Linked DNA regions of Homo sapiens: regions 1 and 3 are each linked to region 2. The links are contacts of gene promoters, found by promoter capture Hi-C in blood cells and fetal thymus (Javierre and others, 2016). All regions are on one chromosome and are shown on one strand. The core of a region is centred on a gene start or on the middle of the fragment in contact, and the rest is flanking DNA. Distances in the headings are between cores, read along the strand shown.

Region 1 (2,700 bases), core at 36-2,535, 470 kb before region 2:
AGGCAGCAGATGTCTGATGACGGACATTTGAAATGGAAACATGCGCCTCTCCCAAAAGGGGAACTCAAAAACGTCAGCATTTTGAATCACTTCATTCTGACATGATAAAACAAAATTAGTTACCTATCTCCAAATCTGCAAGCTCCTGTTTTACTGTAGAAGGGACAATTAGCTCGATCCTTCTCCATTACTCTGAAATCCACGGGTGGTTCTGGGTTTTGCCATGTGGTACCATTTTCCAACTGTTGAAAATAACCATGACTTTACTGGTGGAGTAAAAACCCATGAAAGACGAAATGTTTCAAAGTATATTAAAATATTTTCCTCAAAGATAAACATTGTTTCATTTAATAATGCAAACATTTAAGTTGGAACAGGCAATCAAGACTTTACAAACAACGGTACTGAGACATGAGCTCCATGTCTCTCTTGGCTCCTGGTCACTTTCCTTTATCTGGTATCACTACTGCCACCAGGGGCAGTCGCCAAGGTTTCCATCCATTCTAAAAAGGGTCCAAGAAGGCCGGGTGCAGTGGCTCACGCCTGTAATCCCAGCACTTTGGGAGGCCGAGGTGGGTGGATCACCTGAGATCAGGAGTTCAAGACCAGCCTGACCAACATGGAGAAACCCCATCTCTACTAAAAATATAAAATTAGCTGGGCGTGGTGGTGCACACCTATAATCCCAGCTACTTGGGAGGCTGGGGCAGGAGAGTTGCTTGAACCCGGGAGGCGGAGGTTGCAGTGAGCCGAGATCATACCACTGTACTCCAGCCTGGGCAACAAGAGCAAAACTCCGTCTCAAAAAAAAAAAAAAGAAAAAAAGAGAAAAAAAAGGGTCCAAGAACTTATTAGGGAACCACCACAGACAGAAATAGAAGTTACTCTGATTCAAGGTAAACCGTCCACTGGAGGCTAACGGTATGTGATGTTGCTTAAACATACTGTAAGGACTCTAAACAGGTCCAGTCCACAGGGGTCATGAATACCATTTGTATTTGTTCATCAATAAAGTTTGTTGTTGTTGTATAAATCAAAGCATCATAAACATGAGTCCAGATATCCAAACATGATCTAACTAACCTACCACGAAACTAACATTACTGGAACTATTATTTCTAAGGAAACATTAATTGGTCTCAAATTATCAATGTAAGGTTTTAAAAATACCTCATTTTCAGCCTGATCCAGCATCTTCTGCAAAGCTTCCTAAAATGGTGCAAACACAGGACTAATAAAAACCCAGAAGTCAGGTAAGTCACATCTGGTTTCTCTGGTTAAGAATCTCAAGTGGAACAATTAAAACACACACACGCACACAAGTTCTAGTTTTCTTTTGAATCACAGATCTTTTGAAAAGCTTTCAAAGGATATATAGCTGAGACTTTTCTCTTTTTTTTTTGAGACAGGGTCTCACTCTGTCACCCAGGCTGGAGTGCAGTGGCGTGACCTCAGCTCACTGCAACCTCCGCCTCCCAGGCTCAAGTGATCCTCCCACCTCAGCCTTCCGAGTAGCTAGGACTACAGGCGCACACCACCACGCCTGGATAACTTTTGTATTTTCTGTAGAGACGGAGTTTCACCATGTTGCCCAGGCTAGTCTCGAACTCCTGAGCTCAAGCAATCCACCCGCCTCAGCCTCCCAAAGTGCTGGGATTACAGGCATGAGCTACCGTGCCCGGCCCATAGCTGAGACGTTCTATTCAAATAGAAAATTTACCAGATCACATTGCAAAATATTTAAAATAGTCTTATAATAGTTTCAATAATAGTAATACTTAGTATATTTGAGTATATATACCATGTCCTAGTTCGTAAAAGGGGGTATTAGTGAATATAAAACACAATGCTAGGCCGGGCATGGTGGCTCACACCTATAATCCTAGCACTTTGGGAGGCTGAGGCGGGTGGATCACTTGAGGTCAGGAGTTCTAGACCAGCCTGGCCAAGACGGTGAAACCCCGTCACTACTAAAAATACAAAAATTAGCCAGGTGTGGTGGCACGTGCCTGTAATCCCAGCTACTTGGGAGGCTGAGACAGGAGAATCGCTTGAACCCAGGAGGCAGAGGTTGCAGTGAGCCGAGATGACGCCACTGCACTCCAGCCTAGGCGACAGAGCAAGACTCTGTCTAAAAAAAAACGAACAAACAAACAAACGAAAAAACCCAAAAAACAATGCTAGATGAAATCATAAACATTTAGCAGAAGCTAAAATATGACATGACCAGTGGTAATTAGCATTTAGGAGAAAATTCTAACTTTTTAATAAGGCAAAGGAGGTTCTGCAATATGCCAGTAAATTTCTACCTAATTGGCATTTGAACAAGTTGTACCTATGTTTAACAGACAGTCTTATCTTCCCTAGCCCCTTAAAGCATTACATAAGACTCGTATGTCTAGTTGCTTATTTGTGGTGCTCAAAACAGAACTCTTGTCCTCTACACTCCCTGGCCCACATCCACCTGAATGCTCCCTCAGTGAATAGTGTTGCCAGTCTATCTGTCTATTCAAACTAAAAACCTAAAAATATGACTTGAATTCCTCTCTCTCTCCTTGTCCTCTGGTCAACATGGTGAAACCCTGTCTGTACTAAAAACACAAAAAATTAGCCGGGTGTGGTGATGGGCGCCTGTAGTCCCAGCTACTCAGGAGGCTGAGGCAGAAGAATCGCTTGAACCCGGGAGGCAGAGGTTTCAGT
Region 2 (2,700 bases), core at 156-2,655:
ATAAAGCTTAATTAAGTGTCCTTGAGTCTTCATCACTGTAATTCTCCGATGCTTCATCAATATTAACACAGGGCAAAGTATCGATTGCTACTCTAGTCTTACTCATCAACTCATTAATTCGCTTCAAATCTCACAACTAAAATGCTCTTTCAATGATGTTATTGCACTGTAATTTGTATAAGGTACACTCCACGAAATACTGTCAATACATTTTATTGTGAGCATCTAATATGTGTCAGGGAGTGTGCTGACATTGGGTAAAGAAATTCATGTATTAAACTAAAACTTCCTCAACATCCATTACCAAGAACAGATCCTGCCTCAGTTTACTATCTGGCAGGGAAGGCAGACATTTAACAAGCAAATACAATTTCCGTTTTCAGAAAGAAGTCCATGTGAGATCTCAAGAGACAAGTAATCAAGGATCAGGGTGAGGAGGGAGAATGCAATCAGGCAAACAACTTGAATATCATCTGATAAATGTTATACTTTGGCCAGCATGTGGCCAAAGTACTATTAAAATTAAAAAGTGAGAGTATTTCATTCTCTGGAGGCTTGGGGAAAGCATCAGAAAGGAGCAGACATTTTCAGGGATGAATAGGCTTACACTAGGCTTAATAAAATGGGTGCCAGTAACGGTGGCTGTGATGGTACTCAGAAAGGAATTTCTTCTCGAAAACGCACGTATGGCAGGGATGGGGGATTCCAAGTACCAGCTGTGACGCATGGATGACCGTCATACCACTCTCACTGATTCTTTAGCTTCCTAGTCAAGCACCATCGTAACTAGTTGAACCAGTCGAGTGGGAGTTGATATTTCAGATCAGACCTCGTATGTTTCCCTCAGAGTGTAGAATTGCCATATAAATAACAGGATGTCTAGTTAAATTTACATGTCCGATAAAAAACGAATGTGTAGTGAAGTCCCCAATATTTGGTACATGCTTGTATTAAACATCATTTGTGCTTTATCTGAAATTAAAACTTCATAGTTTCATCTGTTTTGACTTTTTGTGTATTTTTATTTATTTATCTGGCAAACGTCCCAGAGCGGTAAGAACCGGCACGGTTTTGCCGTGGCACAGCTGATTACAAACAAAAAGTCTCTCCAATCAGAAGCAAGCGCGCAGAGAACTGGCGTCCGGAATAGAGACGCTGTAACCAGGAAACCAGGGTGAGCACCCACCCTACCGTCGGCCGCTTCTAGGAGACGGGCGCAGGCGCGCGCTGACGTTACATCTCGCGCTTAAGGGTGGGGACGACAGAGCGTCTCTCTCGGACGTGACCTCAGCGCCTCTTTGTGATTGGCTGCCTCGGGGGCGCGGCCCTTGGGCGCGGACGCCCTAGATTGGTGCTGCGGAACAGCAGGGAGGGACTCCGGCTGCAGCCGCGGGAGGTCCGGACACTGGCGGCCATGGAACTCACCGGTGAGTGCGCGTCGCGCCGCCCCTCTCCAGCGCTCTGGGCCGCTTTCGGATGGGGCTGTTCTGCGCGCGTGGGATCGTGGCGGGTGGTGGAGGGGGTGAAACCGACCCGGTTCGAAGCCCGGAAGTTGGGTCGGAGGGTCTCCAGAGTAGGTTGGGGCTGAGGGTGCGTTTAGGGCGGACGCGCTGGGTTCCTTGGCTCAGGCGGGTGGGTCGAGGGACTGGGGTCTCCGGAACCCCGGGCCTGAGACCAACGTCCACTCTTTGGTTGTTTTCTTTCTCTCTTTGGGCCTGGCCATCCCCGCCATGAACCCAGCGGGGTCGCTGTCTGAGCAGGGGTATCCCCTCCTTGGCCCGAGCGTTTCCCCAGCGACCTCTCAGGGAATCAGGGAATGAAGCTCAGACAGTGCCCAGGAATTGTCGGTGGAAGTACCATTCTCTTGACCCACAACTCCTGCCAGGTCTCCCTAAGGTTCTTCAGGAACCTCTACTGCTAATGATTGCCCAGGGCTCGTTGGTCGTGGTCGAGAATTTTACGGTAATGTCTTTGCCACTTTAAGTGGCTGGGTGGGAACCTTGGACAAATCACTCAACTTGTCTGGGTTCTCATTTGTAAAACGAGAGAGGTATTCACTAGAGCTCCAAGCCTCATTTCGGCTTTAAGAGCTAAGATTCTGCGATTGTGCAGCATAATGAACTTTTATGTCAAAGATGTTTGGACTGAAAACCTGGCGGAAGTGGGCAGACTCCTCACAGAACGTTGCAGGCTAATGACAACATTTTAAATGATATCATTTGGTTCATTACTCACTGTTTTTGCTATCGTTCATCTTTTAAAACTGGTAGAACTGGAAGTTCGGGTTTAGGTGACCACAGTAAGAAAATGTTAGTTAAGCCACCTAAAAGTACAAACTTGGGGAATTTCAATATTTGGTAATATTGAATCTTAATTAGTAAACTCAGTCAACAAACACTTCTGGGGTCTTTCCGAGAGTATATTTAAAATGTAGATGAGGCCGGGCACGGTGGCTCACACCTGTAATCCCAGCACTTTGGGAGGCCGAGGCTGGTGGATCACCTGAGGTCAGGGGTTCGAGACCAGCCTGGCCAACATGATGAAACCCCGTCTCTACTAAAAATACAAAAATTAGCTGGGCTTGTGGTGTGCGCCTGTAATTCCAGCTATTCAGGAGGCTGAAGTGGGAGAATCGCTTGAACTCGGGAGGCAGAGGCTGCAGTGAGACGAGATCGCTCCACTGCACACTAGCCTGGGCAA
Region 3 (2,700 bases), core at 170-2,669, 450 kb before region 2:
ATCACCTGAGGTCAGAAGTTCGAAACCAGCCTGGCCAACATGATGGGGTTTCACCCCATCTCTACTAAAAATACAAAAATTAGCCGGGTGTGGTTGCGCACGCCTGTAATCCCAGCTACTCGGGAGGCTGCAGCAGGAGAACTGCTTGAACCCAGGGGGCGGAGGCTGCAGTGAGCCAAGATCGTGCCACTGCACTCCAGCCTGGGCAACAGAGCGAGACTCCGTCTCAAAAAAAAAAAAAAAAAAAAAGAAAAGAAAAGAAAAAATTAGCCAGGTGTGGTGGTGAATGCCTGTAGTCCCAGCTACTAGGGAGGCTGAGGTGGGAGGACTGCTTGAGCCTGGGAGGTGGAGGCTGCTGTGAGCCGTGGTTGTGCACATCCCTCCTGGGCAACAGAACAAGACCCTGTCTCAAAAATAAATAAATGAGCTTCATAACTAGTATTATGTTGATATATATTTGAATAACATAATAATTTGGGTAAACCAAGGGTCTCATATTAGTCAAGTTTGAGAAAAACTTGCAAAACGTCTAATTAATACCTTCAACTCCTGCTGGTTTTACGAAGAAAAACATTCACCGAATACTTACTACGTGTGCAAGGACTGTGCTAGCTGCTGTAATTCATGAAGCTTGCAACTGTAATATTAGATACTTTATAAGTTACACAGAATCAGTGGGCGATCATTCACCAAGACTTCCTCTTCCTGCCTTTAGTATGTTAACATTGTTTCTGACATGTGTTTCTAAATAACTACTTGGGGGCAGAAGTCACAGCTATTTTTCCTCCGACACAATATTTGACTTCCTTCTGACACTGGGGCTTCAAGTTAGGGCTGGAGTGGACAGAGCAATTTCACAACACAGAAAACAGAATAAAGAGTCCATCACCTGAGTCTCTCAGTCGAGCAAGTTCCTGCCGACGTTTCTTTCGTTTCTCCTTCTTCAGGGCGGCCCTGTACTTTTTGTGGCTGGAAGATTAAGACATATACACGACGATCAGCGGCTACAATGCAGCGCTGCCCGAGCTCCCCGCTCCTCTGTGCCCAATGAAAGGAAATAGTTCGGGTGCTGAGGAGAGAAACCTTGCTTCCTGTATTTTAATTACAGAACAGCCATCTATCATCGCCTCATCCTCCCACTCCCAGACAGTTCTTCTCCATCCGCCAACCTGATCCTCTCCTCGCTTGCCTGAGCCACAGCCGCCCGTGCAAGTCCGGGGAGGGCACCAGAGCGCGCACCAGGAAGGAATGGAGCTGCCGCGGTGGCTCACTTAGCTTGGCCCAGCTTCTCTTTTCTTCCTGCCACCACATCCTCCATGCCCACGATCGGCCCGCTCGCCTGCTCATCTCCCCGTACGGCGCTTACCTTGGTTTCTCGGGAAACGTCATCTTCTCGGGCGCAGCCATCTTGCCGGCACCGCCCCGCCCCTCCAGGTCTGGCAGGAAAGGGCGGGCCTAAGAGTCGAGACGGGCACGCGCAGGCGCGGGTACCGAGCAACCTCCACCAGCGTGGGACTTGAAACGGAAAGCCGGAGGTACCCTTCGGCGGCTCGTCTTCCAGAACCCTGCTCAAATAAATACCTCCTTCCAGCAAAAATACTCTGGGGCTTTTACCCCGCCCTAGAAGTAATTGTCGCTTCAGCACTTGCCCAGTGCTGTATCACTGTCTCCCTCCTCGCCCTAGCAGGACGTGTTGTGGCTAGGCGGTTAAAGTCGTACTCTGCCGCTTTTCTCAGCATCCACTCATGAAGTCACATCGCGCACAGAGCTGCTCGCCCGGCTTTATTTCCGACCTGTCCAGGTTCCGCGTCCTTCCGCCGATCCACCTATCAGCGCCTCAGACAAAGCTCCAGACTTCGCTCCCTGCCAGTCACACCTGTTCTGGTCCCTTAAGCAAACCTAACTCCCAGGGCTGCAAAGCTGTTACCTCTGCCCCTGAGGAGTTTACAATCGAGGGGGCAGAGAAGAACCAATACATAATATGATGCAGGCAAAGATGAAGTTTACCTAACATAGTCCACCAAGGGATTCAGGGAGAGCTCTCTTTTTTTTCCTTTTTTCTTTTTTTTTCAGTATCACATGCGACTCAACTGCAGTATCAGGGACAGCTTTCTGATGCTAAGAGTTGAGTTTGGAAAGAAGATGCCCTTTACCCAGAAGGAGAAGGGTGGGAATGCAGTTACAGTCAGATCAGCATAAGCAAAGGCGCTGAAAGGTGAAAGTGGAATATGCTGGGAACAGCAAGAATTTTGGCAATCGAATTTATTTATTTATTCATTTCTTATATATTAGAGACAGGGTCTTGTCTTTCACCCAGGTTGGAGTGCAGTGGCGCAATCACGACTCGCTGCAGCTTCGACCTCCTGGGGTCAAGCAATCCTTCCACCTCAGCCTCCCGAGTAGCTGGGAATACAGGCGCGAGCCACCACGCCCGCCCAGCTATCCAATTTAAAGTGCAGTTCGAGGCTGGGTGCAGCGGCTCACGCCTGTAATCCCAGCACTTTGGGAGGCCTAGGCGGGTGGATCACCTGAGGTCAGGAGTTCGTCAGCCTGGCCAACATGGTGAAACCCCGTCTCTACTAAAAATACAAAATTAGCCGGGTGTGGTGGCACATGCCTGTAGTCCCAGCTACTCTGGAGGCTGAAACAGGAGAACTGCTTGAACCCAGGAGGTGGCGGCCGCAGTGAGCCGAGATGGCA

The links. Contacts are between HindIII fragments. The CHiCAGO score rates a contact against its expected background, and 5 or more counts as called.
Region 1: a contact is called between a fragment that was not itself captured here and the fragment with the promoter of PIGA in region 2, in 1 of 17 cell types (naive CD8 T cells). The highest score is 5.2, in naive CD8 T cells.
Region 3: a contact is called between the fragment with the promoter of ZRSR2 here and the fragment with the promoter of PIGA in region 2, in 7 of 17 cell types (fetal thymus, total CD8 T cells, naive CD4 T cells and 4 more). The highest score is 8.6, in fetal thymus.

Annotation. Positions count from the first base shown.
Region 1 is chrX:15,806,742-15,809,441 of GRCh38, reverse strand. ZRSR2 (zinc finger CCCH-type, RNA binding motif and serine/arginine rich 2) reads right to left here. Exons shown (of 11, transcript NM_005089.4): 6 at 1,171-1,209; 7 at 124-242. Among named protein-coding and RNA genes, the nearest start is that of ZRSR2, 18 kb to the right of the region's middle. The HindIII fragment of the contact is 155 bases long and covers 1,208-1,362 here.
Region 2 is chrX:15,334,228-15,336,927 of GRCh38, reverse strand. PIGA (phosphatidylinositol glycan anchor biosynthesis class A) reads left to right here and starts at 1,405. Exons shown (of 6, transcript NM_002641.4): 1 at 1,405-1,427. RefSeq lists enhancers at 1,474-1,553, 1,604-1,653. The HindIII fragment of the contact is 3,001 bases long and covers 9-2,700 here.
Region 3 is chrX:15,789,203-15,791,902 of GRCh38, reverse strand. ZRSR2 (zinc finger CCCH-type, RNA binding motif and serine/arginine rich 2) reads right to left here and starts at 1,419. Exons shown (of 11, transcript NM_005089.4): 1 at 1,367-1,419; 2 at 890-969. The coding sequence starts at 1,407. RefSeq lists enhancers at 1-433, 1,092-1,541. The HindIII fragment of the contact is 2,263 bases long and covers 633-2,700 here.